Regions from separate parts of the Homo sapiens genome. Here region 1 is linked to region 2. The links are contacts of gene promoters, found by promoter capture Hi-C in human tissues and cell types (Jung and others, 2019). All regions are on one chromosome and are shown on one strand. Each heading gives the region's core, a stretch centred on a gene start or on the middle of the fragment in contact. The rest is flanking DNA. Distances are from core to core; before and after follow the strand shown.

Region 1 (2,700 bases), core at 106-2,605, 290 kb before region 2:
AAAAAAAAAAAAAAAAGCATTAGGCTTTGAGTGAGGGGCCCAGGTTTGTGACCTTAAGCAAGTCACCATTATCTGAGCCCTCCTCTCCCCATTTGTAAAATGGAAAAGAACATGGCAAAAACAAAACAAGACCAAGTAAGATAATGCACTGGAAATCATTTTGAAAATGTAAAGCAATATGTAATTAAAGCAATATCATGATGCTGTAACTCCTATGATATTTTATTTATGCTGTGTCAACACAGGAATATTCAATAAGAGCAGTCACAAAAATCAGCCAATTTCATCTGTTAAGATAGTAAAGAGATTTGCACATCATTATATAGAGCTTTTCTCACCAATGTTTGGTATAAAGATATTAACAGTTGTCTGTGTCCTTCCCAAGCCCAGGTACCTTTTTCCCAAGAAATCAGATGTTAGGGAAAGAGGCAAGACTACCTGTCCTTTGCAGAGTAAAATTACATGAGAACTAGAGTGACCAACTATTGATTTTGCCTGTCAATCCAAAAATCAGGAAAGTCCCAAGCAACTTGGAAGACAAGTTAGTGACTCCAAGAGCCATGATGTAGACAGTGGACAGAGCACTGGACTGAGAATCAGGTGTCCAACATTCTCCTCCTAGCTGGGGTACCTGCTGATGTAGTGACCTTGAGCAAGTCACTTAACCTCTGTTCCTTAGATCCTTCATTTGCAAAATTGGGAGGTTGGACCTGATATCTAGCTAAATGGCGCAAGTATTATTAAGCATGTACTGTATTTTCAGATCTATGTGAAATGTCCCATTGACATTTCTTCATTGAATCTTCCCAACAACACTATGATGCAAATACTATTATTATTTCCTACTAACAGATGAAGACACAGAGGACCAAAAGAGGCCAAGATTTAAGTCACACCATGTGAGGCACTGCATCCCAGCTGTGAGGAACATAGCCTCTTAGGCCAGAGCTCAATTCCCAGCCCCACCACGTGCTAGCTGTGTTACCTTGGTCAAGTCCCTTAATCCATGTGCCTCAGTAATATGGGGGCTTCTTTTATGGTTGTTTAGGAGTGCTTCAAACAATGCCTGGCACAAGACAAAGTCTATGCAAGAGTTTGTTAAATAAATCAAATACGGGTGTATATCCTCTAAAATACTATACACACTGCTGCCCCTTTCAAAGGTCTCTTCCTGGTCCTAATAGACTATGATTTTATGGATTTTATTTGCCTCTTCTGTACAATATAGGAAAACAGAGACTGCTAAATGCAGAGCATTTTTGCAATAATGAAGGGCTAAATGACTTTCTTCATTCCTAAACCACATTCTCAAAGAAAACACTGCTGATTCTCATAGAGTGTCTGTGTGATTGAGAATCTGTGAATTCACTCCTGGGCATCTTTAAAAAGAAAAGAAATCAGCACAACATTTGTGTAATGCCTTAACATTAAATCTGCGGGCCTTTGCCAGTTTGTAAGTCATTTGGAACCTTTAACATCACTTATGCTCAGAGTTTCTTTGTTGTAATTATCTAAAGAGAACAGAGAAGTTTTAAGCTCTTTAAGCAACAGGGAAAAGTCACCATGTTTCATCTTTCAATGAATTATTTGGAGGTATTATTTTTCATTGTGTTTCTGACAATTGTTTAAATATCATGTCCAAGATAAAGGGTTTGATTCTTATTTCTGTTATTCTAGCAGAAATCCCCAGATATCTTGTGAAATTAGCTGCTGTGGTAGTACACTTGTATTTGCTAGTTATTGTGTATTATATACCAATATGTCACAATTCATTCAATACATTTTTACTGGTTATGTACCATGTGCTAGGCACATTTATTTAATATTAATAATTTTCTTTGGCACACACATAGCAGTTTCCAGGACATGCATACTAAGTCTCCTAACTTGCCACTTAGGGAAAAAGCAGAAAGTCATATAAGCCCAATTTTATAGCAAACAATTTACACAGAGCTCCAGGAAGCTAACACTAGTATTCATTTAAAAAAAAAAAAAAAATGTCAGCTGGGCGTGGTGGCTCACGCCTGTAATCCCAGCACTTTGGGAGGCCAAAGTGGGCAGATCACGAGGTCAGGAGATCAAGACAATCCTGGCTAACACAGTGAAACCTCATCTCTACCAAAAATACAAAAAAAAATTAGCCTGGTGTGGTGGCAGGCGCCTGTATTTCCAGCTACTCAGGAGGCTGAGACAGAATGGCATGAACCTGGGAGGCAGAGCTTTCAGTGAGCCAAGATCGTGCCACTGCACTCCAGCCTGGGAGACAGAGCAAGACTCTGTCTCCAAAAAAAAAAAAAAAAAAAAGTCTAGTTGGCTAAGTCCAGTCCATTGGTATGATCATCTTATAAGGCTTCTTGCCAACCATAGAAGTGAACACGAGGCTGGTTTTCTCATTCTGCTTTGGAGAAGTTTCTGCTTCAGTCTTTAATTGGCAAACCAACCTGAATTGTTGTGGTTTACCCAGTTCTGTGTGCACTTTTAAAGACTTGCTCTTGGAAGATTTTCTTCCTCCGGGTGGCTGGGCCATACCTTTCCCTTGCTAGTAGGAAGAACAGCCGCAAGTCCCCATAATTCCTCCAGCCCCTTTGCCCAGCCTAGTTTCAGCGATAGTAGCTGACAATGTAATACTCATTCAGCAGCTGATTATAATTAAAAATATCAGAATAATTAAAGTCCTCAGCTTGACAAGCAGAGCCATAA
Region 2 (2,700 bases), core at 190-2,689:
GTCGCCCACTCTTAGGATCTTCGAGGCGGCTCTGCGCCGGGCTTTCAGGAGCTGTCCCGATCCGGAGGGGTCGCGTGTCTTTCTCGGCTCTTTGGGGAGCCTCTGCATCCCTCCACCTTTCGTCTGACCTAGCGGCCCGCGCCCGCCACCCGGGAGTCTGCTTCTCTTCCTTCCTTTTCTCTCCAACTTTTCCTCTTAGCAATCTCCATGGCCCGCTTCGCCCGCCTCGACTTCCCTCCTTTTCTAAATCCGCTTCGCCTTTCCGAAGTTTTTATTTCCAACCTCGACGTCTCAGCAGAACCTTCCCTTCCTCCCTTCCCCTGGCAACCACCTGGGGCTGTCCCAGACCATTCCGCTTAAAAGCGAGGCTCCGCGGGCTTCCCGGTCCCCAGCCTGGCCCGCCGCGCGCCCCGCGCCTCGCCCGCCTCGGCCGCCTCTCCCACCTCGCCCGCCTCTCCCACCTCGCCCGCCTCGGCCGCCTCGTCCGCCTAGTCCGCCTCGCCCGCGAGTAGCGGAGCCGTCTGGCCGCGTCAGCCCTCGCCCGAGCCGGAAAAGGGCTTTGGCGAGCGCGGTCCGGGCCCCGGAGGCGGCTGGCGTCCTCCTGGCTGGGCGCAACTTCTCCTGCCCCGAAGAGTTGAGCTAGCCTCAGTGCTAGAGACCCGTACGCATTGAACGTGGGCAGAAATTTCCGTGAAAGATGCCCACACAGGAGGCGGCTGCGATTTCTGTTCGGACGCAGTGACCCTCAAGGAAGCAAAACACAAGAAAACAGAAACTAATAAACTGCTACGACTTCTATTTTGCTCTATCCATCCATATCTCCAGCCATCTACTTCTTTCCCGCTAATTCTCTGTCCTCTACTTGGAACCATTTGTTATCAATTTCAGAAATTTTATTGAAAATAAAAATTAAAAGCCCGAGTCTGTTACAAATGAGGCTTGAAAACCCAATTCTCTTCCACACTTAAAACGAGAAAAGCCCCTGACTTTATCAGAATCTCGATTTTCTCTGAGAGCGTGCCCACATTCAGTAGCACCACATTCCCCATCAGAGCTTAAAAGGGTGGGGTGGGGTGGGGGGAGGCGAGGAAAAGGGAAAGAAAAATAAAATAAATAAAAACATTCCTAAATTAAAGTTGTCAGATTTCAGCCTTAAAGTCCCTTTTCAGAGCAGCGAAGTCTTCCCTAGCCAGCTTTTCTAAAAGTTAAAAAAAGCTGAGAAAACCGACCGGAAATCTACGAGTAAATAGCTTAAAAATATATATCATTTGGGGTATCAAGAAGCTCAAATTCTCTATCTGCAAAGCTCTAAGGTGCATCTGGGGGTGTCGACTCACCTCATAGATATCTTCGTACTTGACATTCTCCACAAGCTTCCAGAGCATGATGGCAGCCTGGTCTCTAGGAGGTGAGTGCATTCATGTGAGGAGCAGATGTCTGGCTTCTCAGGACTCCGCTGTCTGTAATGATCCATCTATAATTGGAAATGGGGGATACACACCAAATCCGACGCTCCTCTCCCATCGCAACTTATATCTGTTGTCTCAAACAATAGGCTGGACAAGTAAGCCTCAGCAAAGAGAAAAAACATTATTGCACACACAGGAGTTAGATGCAACCCACAGACATATATACTATAAAAATCATAAACCCGTATTTACACCCAGACACCCACATATAGTTATATAAGCACCTCTGGGTCACACAGTCTGCAGACTCCAAATGTGCATTTAACAAAGAGTTGTTCAGGGTGATTAATATAATATATACATTTTATAACTTCTATATCGAAAATGACACATCATTGTAGCCACTAACTGAAGTCTTTGCAATTCATAATGAGAAACCAGGGGCCATCAGTCCCCTATTTTCTATGTAGATTTTAAAGGGGGACACTTACCAAGATTTTTAAACACAAAAGCTCCCTCCTATTCATGTATGTTCCGGAAGAGAGTATTTTGAAAGGCTGGATATGGGGGATTTTAAGGACTATCTCTGTGTTGATGGCTACACAACTTTTTTTTTTTTAACTTTATCTCTGTCACCATAGAACAAAAAAGCTAGCCACCGTTGATGACCATTTCTAATATTTTCTGGTCATTTTACCTAAAACCTTTGGAAACTTAAATACACCTCAGTTTGTGCTGCTTGTTATTTTAGGTGTTGTTTGTATGCATTTTCAACGGATTCCATGCACCATTCCTCTTGGCTGGAGTCTCCATTTTATCAAGTTTTTTTCAGATGTTGGAAGCAACGTACGCACACGTTCAGACAAGGTTAATTTTGAGCCTTTTTTGCAGAGGCCAAGGACATTTTATATTTGCATCTGTTGTGTATGACTTGTAAGTGGTTTTAATCATGGAGAGTCAAGAAAGGGCCACCCGAATCTTTGAAAAGGTTTAAGCAGAATGTCTTCAAAGAGATAGTGAAAAATATTTTAGTGCATGTGGAGTTTCTTCTTTTTTTTGTATAATTTTTCTTAATAAGATGATTCATATAGTTTTTAAAAAGGAAAACATCATCAGCAACAAGAACAATATTAACCAGACTTAGAAAATGGGCACCATTTAAGGCGCAGGGATTCTGAATTTTATCATGAAATGAATACTCATCTGTTCCCCTGTTCCCCCTTTCCCATCCCCTCTGTTTTTCTACTCCCTTTCAGGGTGCGGAGAGCTTCTCATAGCCGGAACAGACGCC

The links. Contacts are between HindIII fragments. The study calls those that stand out against the background at their distance.
Region 1: a contact is called between a fragment that was not itself captured here and the fragment with the promoter of TFAP2B in region 2, in 2 of the 25 tissues and cell types used here (small bowel and spleen).

The regions. Positions count from the first base shown.
Region 1 is chr6:51,109,227-51,111,926 of GRCh38, reverse strand. No RefSeq gene overlaps it. Among named protein-coding and RNA genes, the nearest start is that of TFAP2B, 290 kb to the right of the region's middle. The HindIII fragment of the contact is 5,060 bases long and covers 1-2,700 here.
Region 2 is chr6:50,817,610-50,820,309 of GRCh38, reverse strand. It overlaps TFAP2B (transcription factor AP-2 beta), which reads right to left and starts at 1,439. Exons shown (of 7, transcript NM_003221.4): 1 at 1,338-1,439. The coding sequence starts at 1,418. LOC124901490 (a long non-coding RNA gene) reads left to right here and starts at 1,284. Exons shown (of 2, transcript XR_007059923.1): 1 at 1,284-1,408; 2 at 2,666-2,700. The HindIII fragment of the contact is 7,987 bases long and covers 1-2,700 here.